2 separate regions of the Homo sapiens genome follow, and region 1 is linked to region 2. The links are contacts of gene promoters, found by promoter capture Hi-C in blood cells and fetal thymus (Javierre and others, 2016). All regions are on one chromosome and are shown on one strand. Each heading gives the region's core, a stretch centred on a gene start or on the middle of the fragment in contact. The rest is flanking DNA. Distances are from core to core; before and after follow the strand shown.

Region 1 (3,621 bases), core at 308-2,807, 7.2 Mb after region 2:
CCAGCCCAAACTTTTGCCTTGGAAACCCAACTACCACCACTACCACAGCCTTGGCCTCTCTAAGGGCTTGGGAGCATTTGCAGTGGAAACACCACGGGTGGGCTGCAGTTCGGTGCCCCAGCAAGCAAACCTACAGTCTGAGTCTGGCCCAGCACAGGCTACACACACTTTATTCCATATCTGAGTCCAGATACCCCGGCTCTGAGAGGCTATTCTCATTGTAACCACCGCTTGCCTGGGGCTGAGGCTCGGCGCTGACCCGGCCATAACTGCCACGGGCTGGACAATGGGCACATCTGTCCTTTCTCTGAGGGATGAAAGCACCTAAGCGGACACGGCTCTGCCTTTTGTTGCGGATTTTTTTTCTTTCTTTTGTAAATGAAAGAAAGCCGCGGCATGTGGCGGCCGGGTGTACGTCTCAAACTGGGGGCCTCCGCACACGTCCCCACCAGGCCCAAAGACCAGGTTCGATTCCAGATTGGAGCGTGACTGTGGGAAGGGCGAAATTACTCCCGAAGCTGAATTGATTTTCAAATCTGGAGGCGTCTCTCGGGGACGCCGGGAAAAGGGCGTCCCTAGGGGCCAAGCGGAGACCCGCGCGCCGGCGTCCACCCTGTCTGCGTCAGTACTTCTGGAAAGCAACCGCCTCCGGGTGCTTTAGCAGGAGGGCCTTGGGAGTAACCGCAGGGACGGCCCGAGCCTCCACGGCCCCACCAGCACCCGGAAGTTAACATGGGTACCCTCCAGGGCACTCCCTCCGCTCTCCCTCGCCCCCCTCCACAGGCCGAGTCATCGGCGAAGCGGACGCACAGCCTTAATTATGAGCTGAGCGGGAGAAGGAGCCAGGCGGCGGGGGACAGTGAGGTATGGCCCGAACTGGGATTCTTGGCACTGATTACTCCTCTCCCCAGGGCATGGATGAGAAAGGGTGGGCAAGTATGTATCTGGGAGGACGAAGGGTGCCGGGTCAACGGCCGCCAAACGGACCCAGCCCTTTAAGCAATCTGCACCCCACCCCACCCCAACCCCCATCCCCCAATAGGCCGTGAATTCAAGGGTGGGAAAGCGCACTCCCAGCAGCCCCCCGGGAAATAAAGCTTAGTGGGCTAGAGCCGAAGGGGTGATGACACAGTCCCCAGCTCCCCGGGCAAGCTGCACCGGGAAGCAGCAACTGGAGAGAGAGGGGCGATGTCTCCAAGCACAGCACTCCAGCCGCTAGAAGCCCGACACGAGCGTCCCCGGGCTGGGAGGACAGAGCCCACTCAAGCAAGGGAGGCGAGCGAGCCAGGCGCGAGTCTCCTGGGATTGCAGCGGCGGCCCCAGGTCGCGCTCTGCGCCAATCTTTCGCACGTGCCCGCAGCTCCCTGGCCATCCAGCGCCGCAGGGAAGGCGCTGGGCCCCCTCCTTCATTTGTACCGGGACGCCAAGGGCCTGGCGCGCCGCGACCTAGGGGGCGGGGGCGGGCCTCGCGCATGCGCGCTGCGCCTGGCGGGCGTGAGGGCGGGCCGCTGCGGCGGCGGCGGCGGCGGCTACCGAACCGCGGCCACAGAGTCTGTAACAGTAACAGAGCCATGGCTCAAGCTGGCCAGCGGGGCGGGCAGGCAGCAGACGCGGCAGGCGCGCGGGCCGCGGCAGGGGAGCCGGAGACCTCAGAATTTTAAGAAAGAGAGGGGCGAGAGGTGGCCGAGGCGGGCGGGCTGGGGCACTGCGCTCTCCCAACGGCGCGGATCCTCTTTGGAAATTAATATTAAAAAAAAAAAAGCCGAGGACGCAGAGGGGAAGGTGGGGGGTAAGAGGGAAGGCGAGACACACACACACACACACACGCACACGCACACACGGACACACACACACGGAGAGAGAGAGAGAGAGAGACAGAGCCCCACAGTGAGAGGAAGGAAGGCAACAGTCGCCAGCAGCCGATGTGAAGACCGGACTCCGTGCGCCCCTCGCCGCCTCTGCCTGGCCACATCGATGTTGTGTCCGCCGCCTGCTCGCCCGGATCACGATGAACGCGCAGCTGACCATGGAAGCGATCGGCGAGCTGCACGGGGTGAGCCATGAGCCGGTGCCCGCCCCTGCCGACCTGCTGGGCGGCAGCCCCCACGCGCGCAGCTCCGTGGCGCACCGCGGCAGCCACCTGCCCCCCGCGCACCCGCGCTCCATGGGCATGGCGTCCCTGCTGGACGGCGGCAGCGGCGGCGGAGATTACCACCACCACCACCGGGCCCCTGAGCACAGCCTGGCCGGCCCCCTGCATCCCACCATGACCATGGCCTGCGAGACTCCCCCAGGTATGAGCATGCCCACCACCTACACCACCTTGACCCCTCTGCAGCCGCTGCCTCCCATCTCCACAGTCTCGGACAAGTTCCCCCACCATCACCACCACCACCATCACCACCACCACCCGCACCACCACCAGCGCCTGGCGGGCAACGTGAGCGGTAGCTTCACGCTCATGCGGGATGAGCGCGGGCTGGCCTCCATGAATAACCTCTATACCCCCTACCACAAGGACGTGGCCGGCATGGGCCAGAGCCTCTCGCCCCTCTCCAGCTCCGGTCTGGGCAGCATCCACAACTCCCAGCAAGGGCTCCCCCACTATGCCCACCCGGGGGCCGCCATGCCCACCGACAAGATGCTCACCCCCAACGGCTTCGAAGCCCACCACCCGGCCATGCTCGGCCGCCACGGGGAGCAGCACCTCACGCCCACCTCGGCCGGCATGGTGCCCATCAACGGCCTTCCTCCGCACCATCCCCACGCCCACCTGAACGCCCAGGGCCACGGGCAACTCCTGGGCACAGCCCGGGAGCCCAACCCTTCGGTGACCGGCGCGCAGGTCAGCAATGGAAGTAATTCAGGGCAGATGGAAGAGATCAATACCAAAGAGGTGGCGCAGCGTATCACCACCGAGCTCAAGCGCTACAGCATCCCACAGGCCATCTTCGCGCAGAGGGTGCTCTGCCGCTCCCAGGGGACCCTCTCGGACCTGCTGCGCAACCCCAAACCCTGGAGCAAACTCAAATCCGGCCGGGAGACCTTCCGGAGGATGTGGAAGTGGCTGCAGGAGCCGGAGTTCCAGCGCATGTCCGCGCTCCGCTTAGCAGGTGAGCCGGCCAAGGAGCTGGGCGCGCGGGAGATAAGGTACACGAAAGCCGAAGGGACCAAAGGAGGAAGGGTAGGAGAGAGGGCTGGGTGCGCTTCATCCCGCCCGCCCCTACCCCTAGAAGGGGGACTCCCTGTGCCTGGAAGGGCCAGCACAGGGCTGTGGGAGCAAATTGCCTACTCCAGGGCTCAGGGTGTTGGGCTGTGGAAGGCTCCGAGAGCTAAGCGGCCGGGCCTCGGCGACTGAAGAGGCTCATTTGCGCTCAGGGACAGCGAGGGAAGCTCGTACGGCCTGAGGCGGAGAGAAATCCCCGCACCTGGTGAGACACTCTGCGCCACCTCTCAGTTCAGCGATCCGGGTTTGGGAAGAGGGATGCAACGCGTGCGTGGAATCGCACGCAAATGTTCCTCGCAGGTACCTCTGACACATCCCAGGCGCTGGGCTGGAGCGTGCCGGAGCAGCGTCGATGTTTGGCCGAACTGGCTGCTGTGACCCCCTCCCGCGCTCAT
Region 2 (3,194 bases), core at 553-3,052:
TTTGGTCTCCTGGGTCCAAAACAAAGTTCTCTTGGGGCAAGGCGGGTTGGCCGAAGGTGAAATGAACAAGTTAGGGTGGCGGTCCCAGGTGGGGGCCGGCAGGACTGGGAGCCAGGGAAGGCGAGTGAGGTGGTGGGGAGGAGAACGAGAGGGGGCGTGGGCTCCTGCGGGTCAGTGCACCGCCACCGAGTGCAAGGCGGAGGCCGGGCTGGTGAGCGTTTCGCTGGGGGTGGCGGGGCTGCTTTGGCTGGTGGCTGTTTGCGAGGACGTGGGGCTGAGCGAGGGCGGCGAGTTCGAGAGCAAGGTGGGGATGGGCGCTGGCAGCGCAGGCAGCGCGGGCACGGCGGCCGGCGTGGGCTTAATGGGCACGGGGATGGCGGGCAGCGTTTGGCCCGCCGCGTGGCACAGCGGCTTCAACGGCACGCCGTAGGCGCTGTAGTCGCCACTCGCCATGGAGATGGGGGTGGCCGAGTCGATCATGCCGGCGGAGCCATACACGTGTGGCCAGCCGGTGCCCAGCGAGCTGCCCATGGTAGTCAACTGGTTGGGGAGCGGGTAGGCAGCGGGCACCGGCTGCATGGCGGAGAAGGCCAGCCCCCCAGGCATCTTGTATTCCCGCGCGATGATGTTCTCGATGGCGAAGGGGTGCTTGAAGCCCGAGGGCTGCGCCACGCCGCCCAAGTTGTAGGCGGCGGCGGGCATCTGTGGCAGGTGCGTGCCCGAGGCCGCCAGCGCGCTGAGCCGCAGCTTGGCCTGCTGCTGCAGGTACTGCGCCGCGTCGGCTGGCTTGCTGGGCGCCAGGTGGTCGGACTTAAGCACCTTGAAGCGCTTGCGGCGCCGCAGGAAGCTGCCGTTCTCGAACATGTCCCCGCAGCTTGGGTGCAGCGCCCAGAAGCTGCCCTTGCCTGGCTGGTCCGGCCGCCGCGGGATCTTGATGAAGCAGTCGTTGAAGGAGAGGTTGTGGCGCAGACTGTTCTGCCAGCGCTGCGTGTTCTCCCTGTAGTAGGGGAAGCGGTCCATGATGAACTTGTAGATCTCGCTCAGCGGCAGCATCTTCTCGGGAGAGCTCTGGATGGCCATAGCGGTCAGCGAGATGTACGAGTAGGGCGGCTTCTGGTCGCTGTACGTGTTGCGGCCGGGCCGAGGCATCTTCTTCCTCGCCCTCTTCTTGCTCTGGGTCCGCGCGGGCCGGCGGACTGCTCGGATCTGGGAAGGGGGTGGGTAATAGGGAAAGGTAGCATGGATGCACAGAGACACCGGCGGGGTCAGCCAGACCGAGTAACAGACTTCGGGGGTCGGGGGTGGGGCCTGCGGCGCTCGATCAGCCAGCGCCCGGACTCTTTCGCCAGCAACTTTGCGGGCTTAGTGGGCGCGGGAGGGGAAGCCGGCGAACGGCGCGAGGATAGCCGGGAAGTAAGTCGGTACTGGGGCCAGAATAGGGGGCAGGGACGGAACAGAGAGCTGCTCACCTTAAAGTTGCTTCAAGTTGCGCGTCCGCATCCGGGAGGACGCCGCTGCGCGCCGCTTCTCTCTCGGCGCGCACTCGACGCGCACTCCGCGCGCAGCGTCCGGGTCCGGTTGGACTCGGCGCGAACCTGGGCTCTTGAGCTCAGCCCCGCAGCGTCCCGTGCCGCCCGGTCCGCGACGCTCCTGGAGCGTCCTGCGGGCGGCCGAGCTCGGCTGCGGAGTCCCGGCGCGGATGGTGGCAGCGACGTGTTAGGGCTCCGGAGGGCGCTGCTGTGGGCTCCGCGTCTCCGCTGAGCTAGGTGGCTGCCTCCATGTCCTCCCTCGAACCATCTGATAGTTTTAAGCGGTGACAGGAGCAGAAAAGACCCCTGTAGCGGCGCTTCATTAATGTGCCACTTCTTAGCTATCATATGACAATCGCCTTGGGAGGAGGAGGAAGAGGAGGGGGAGCGGGGGCTGCAGAGGGAGGGGACTGAGCGAGAAGGGAGAGCCCGGCCAGCTCTGGTTTCTTTCACACCTATTTACATGGACACCTTGGCCAATAGGAATCACTTCCAGCTCAAGACTGGGCGAGGGGGAAGAGCCTCGGCCACTGGGCAGGCAGCTGGACGCGCCGGCCGGTGTGCGCCGTGTGAAGGTATGAGGAAGCGGCCGCCGCGGAAGAGGGAGCCAGGCGACCACTCACGTTCACAGATGGAGCAGCCGCGCGGATGATGTTTGACATGGAAATTGCTTGGCTGGGGTATTCTGTTTCCTCTGCGTTGTATCCGGTTTGTATCGTTAGGTAACTTTAGGCACGGCTTTCCCCTGAAGCCGACCCTTTTCCTGCGCTTAGCACTACCCGGGGTTGGTTGCATGGGTTATAATAATGAAAACACACCCTTGCCCCCCAGTCCCCGGAGAGTTAGGTCGAAATTTGACTTGACTTTCCTATGCAGCTGCTTCAGCTTTGTATAGTTAGTGTGTAGCTTTGAAAAAGTGATGGGGTTTACAAATACTTTCAAAATGTGATTGGACATCCCCATGTAAGAACCCATTTTGAATGTAACTGTATTGACCAAATTTTTAAAAATTAAAATAGTGTATCTGGGCGAAGAGTCCAGGTATTTGCTTTAAAAGTCCTCCGGGAATTTGGTTGGACACAGGATGGAGGCTCAGGAGCTGTTGGGGCAAATGTTGTGCGGACCTGGGGAGGGCCTGAGTTTGTTTGACACAGTTTATCACCAGGTAAGCCTCAGGGGCTCTCGCTTTTCCCAGGTGGTTTGAAACTTTAGGACTCAGGCACATCCTGGAAGTTTTCATTTTACACCCGGAACTCCCCTTCCCAGCCCTCCCACCCCCCCAACCTCCCACCCCCCATCCCCCAACTGCCGCTTTTTTTGGTATGGAGAACTTATTTAGGATTTAGAGTGTAGCAAAAGCCGCCTGCGATCCCACTAAGACAGCAGTATCTTCTACAACTTGGGGAAAGAACCATAGAGTTTTCCTTCTTGGGGAGCGGGGAATGTGCCTTGGGTCACTCCGCCTGGTGCGAGCAGCAGGCTCCCTTCGGTTCGGATTCGCCTTGGAAGGGTTAAATGAATCATTATTATTATTATCATTATCCTCATCGTCGTCGCTGCCGTCATCATCATCATCATCAAATTGCTATGAAATAAATAGTGAGTCGACCCCGCCTGCATGCACGCACTCTATAAGTACACACCAGGAGTTCCCACGGGTTTCTG

The links. The method cuts DNA at HindIII sites, captures the fragments that hold promoters and counts their contacts. A CHiCAGO score of 5 or more calls a contact.
Region 1: the fragment with the promoter of ONECUT1 here is called in contact with the fragment with the promoter of FOXB1 in region 2 in 2 of 17 cell types (total B cells and naive B cells); the score reaches 8.8 in total B cells.

Annotation. Positions count from the first base shown.
Region 1 is chr15:52,788,272-52,791,892 of GRCh38, reverse strand. ONECUT1 (one cut homeobox 1) reads left to right here and starts at 1,557. Exons shown (of 2, transcript NM_004498.4): 1 at 1,557-3,113. The coding sequence starts at 2,009. LOC105370824 (a long non-coding RNA gene) reads right to left here and starts at 1,463. Exons shown (of 2, transcript XR_001751550.2): 1 at 1-1,463. RefSeq lists enhancers at 1-501, 502-1,270, 1,267-1,561 and a silencer at 1,450-1,519. The HindIII fragment of the contact is 8,870 bases long and covers 1,100-3,621 here.
Region 2 is chr15:60,002,919-60,006,112 of GRCh38, reverse strand. FOXB1 (forkhead box B1) reads right to left here and starts at 1,802. Exons shown (of 2, transcript NM_012182.3): 1 at 1,470-1,802; 2 at 1-1,206. The coding sequence starts at 1,149. The coding sequence ends at 172. RefSeq lists an enhancer at 1,606-2,121. The HindIII fragment of the contact is 10,028 bases long and covers 1-3,194 here.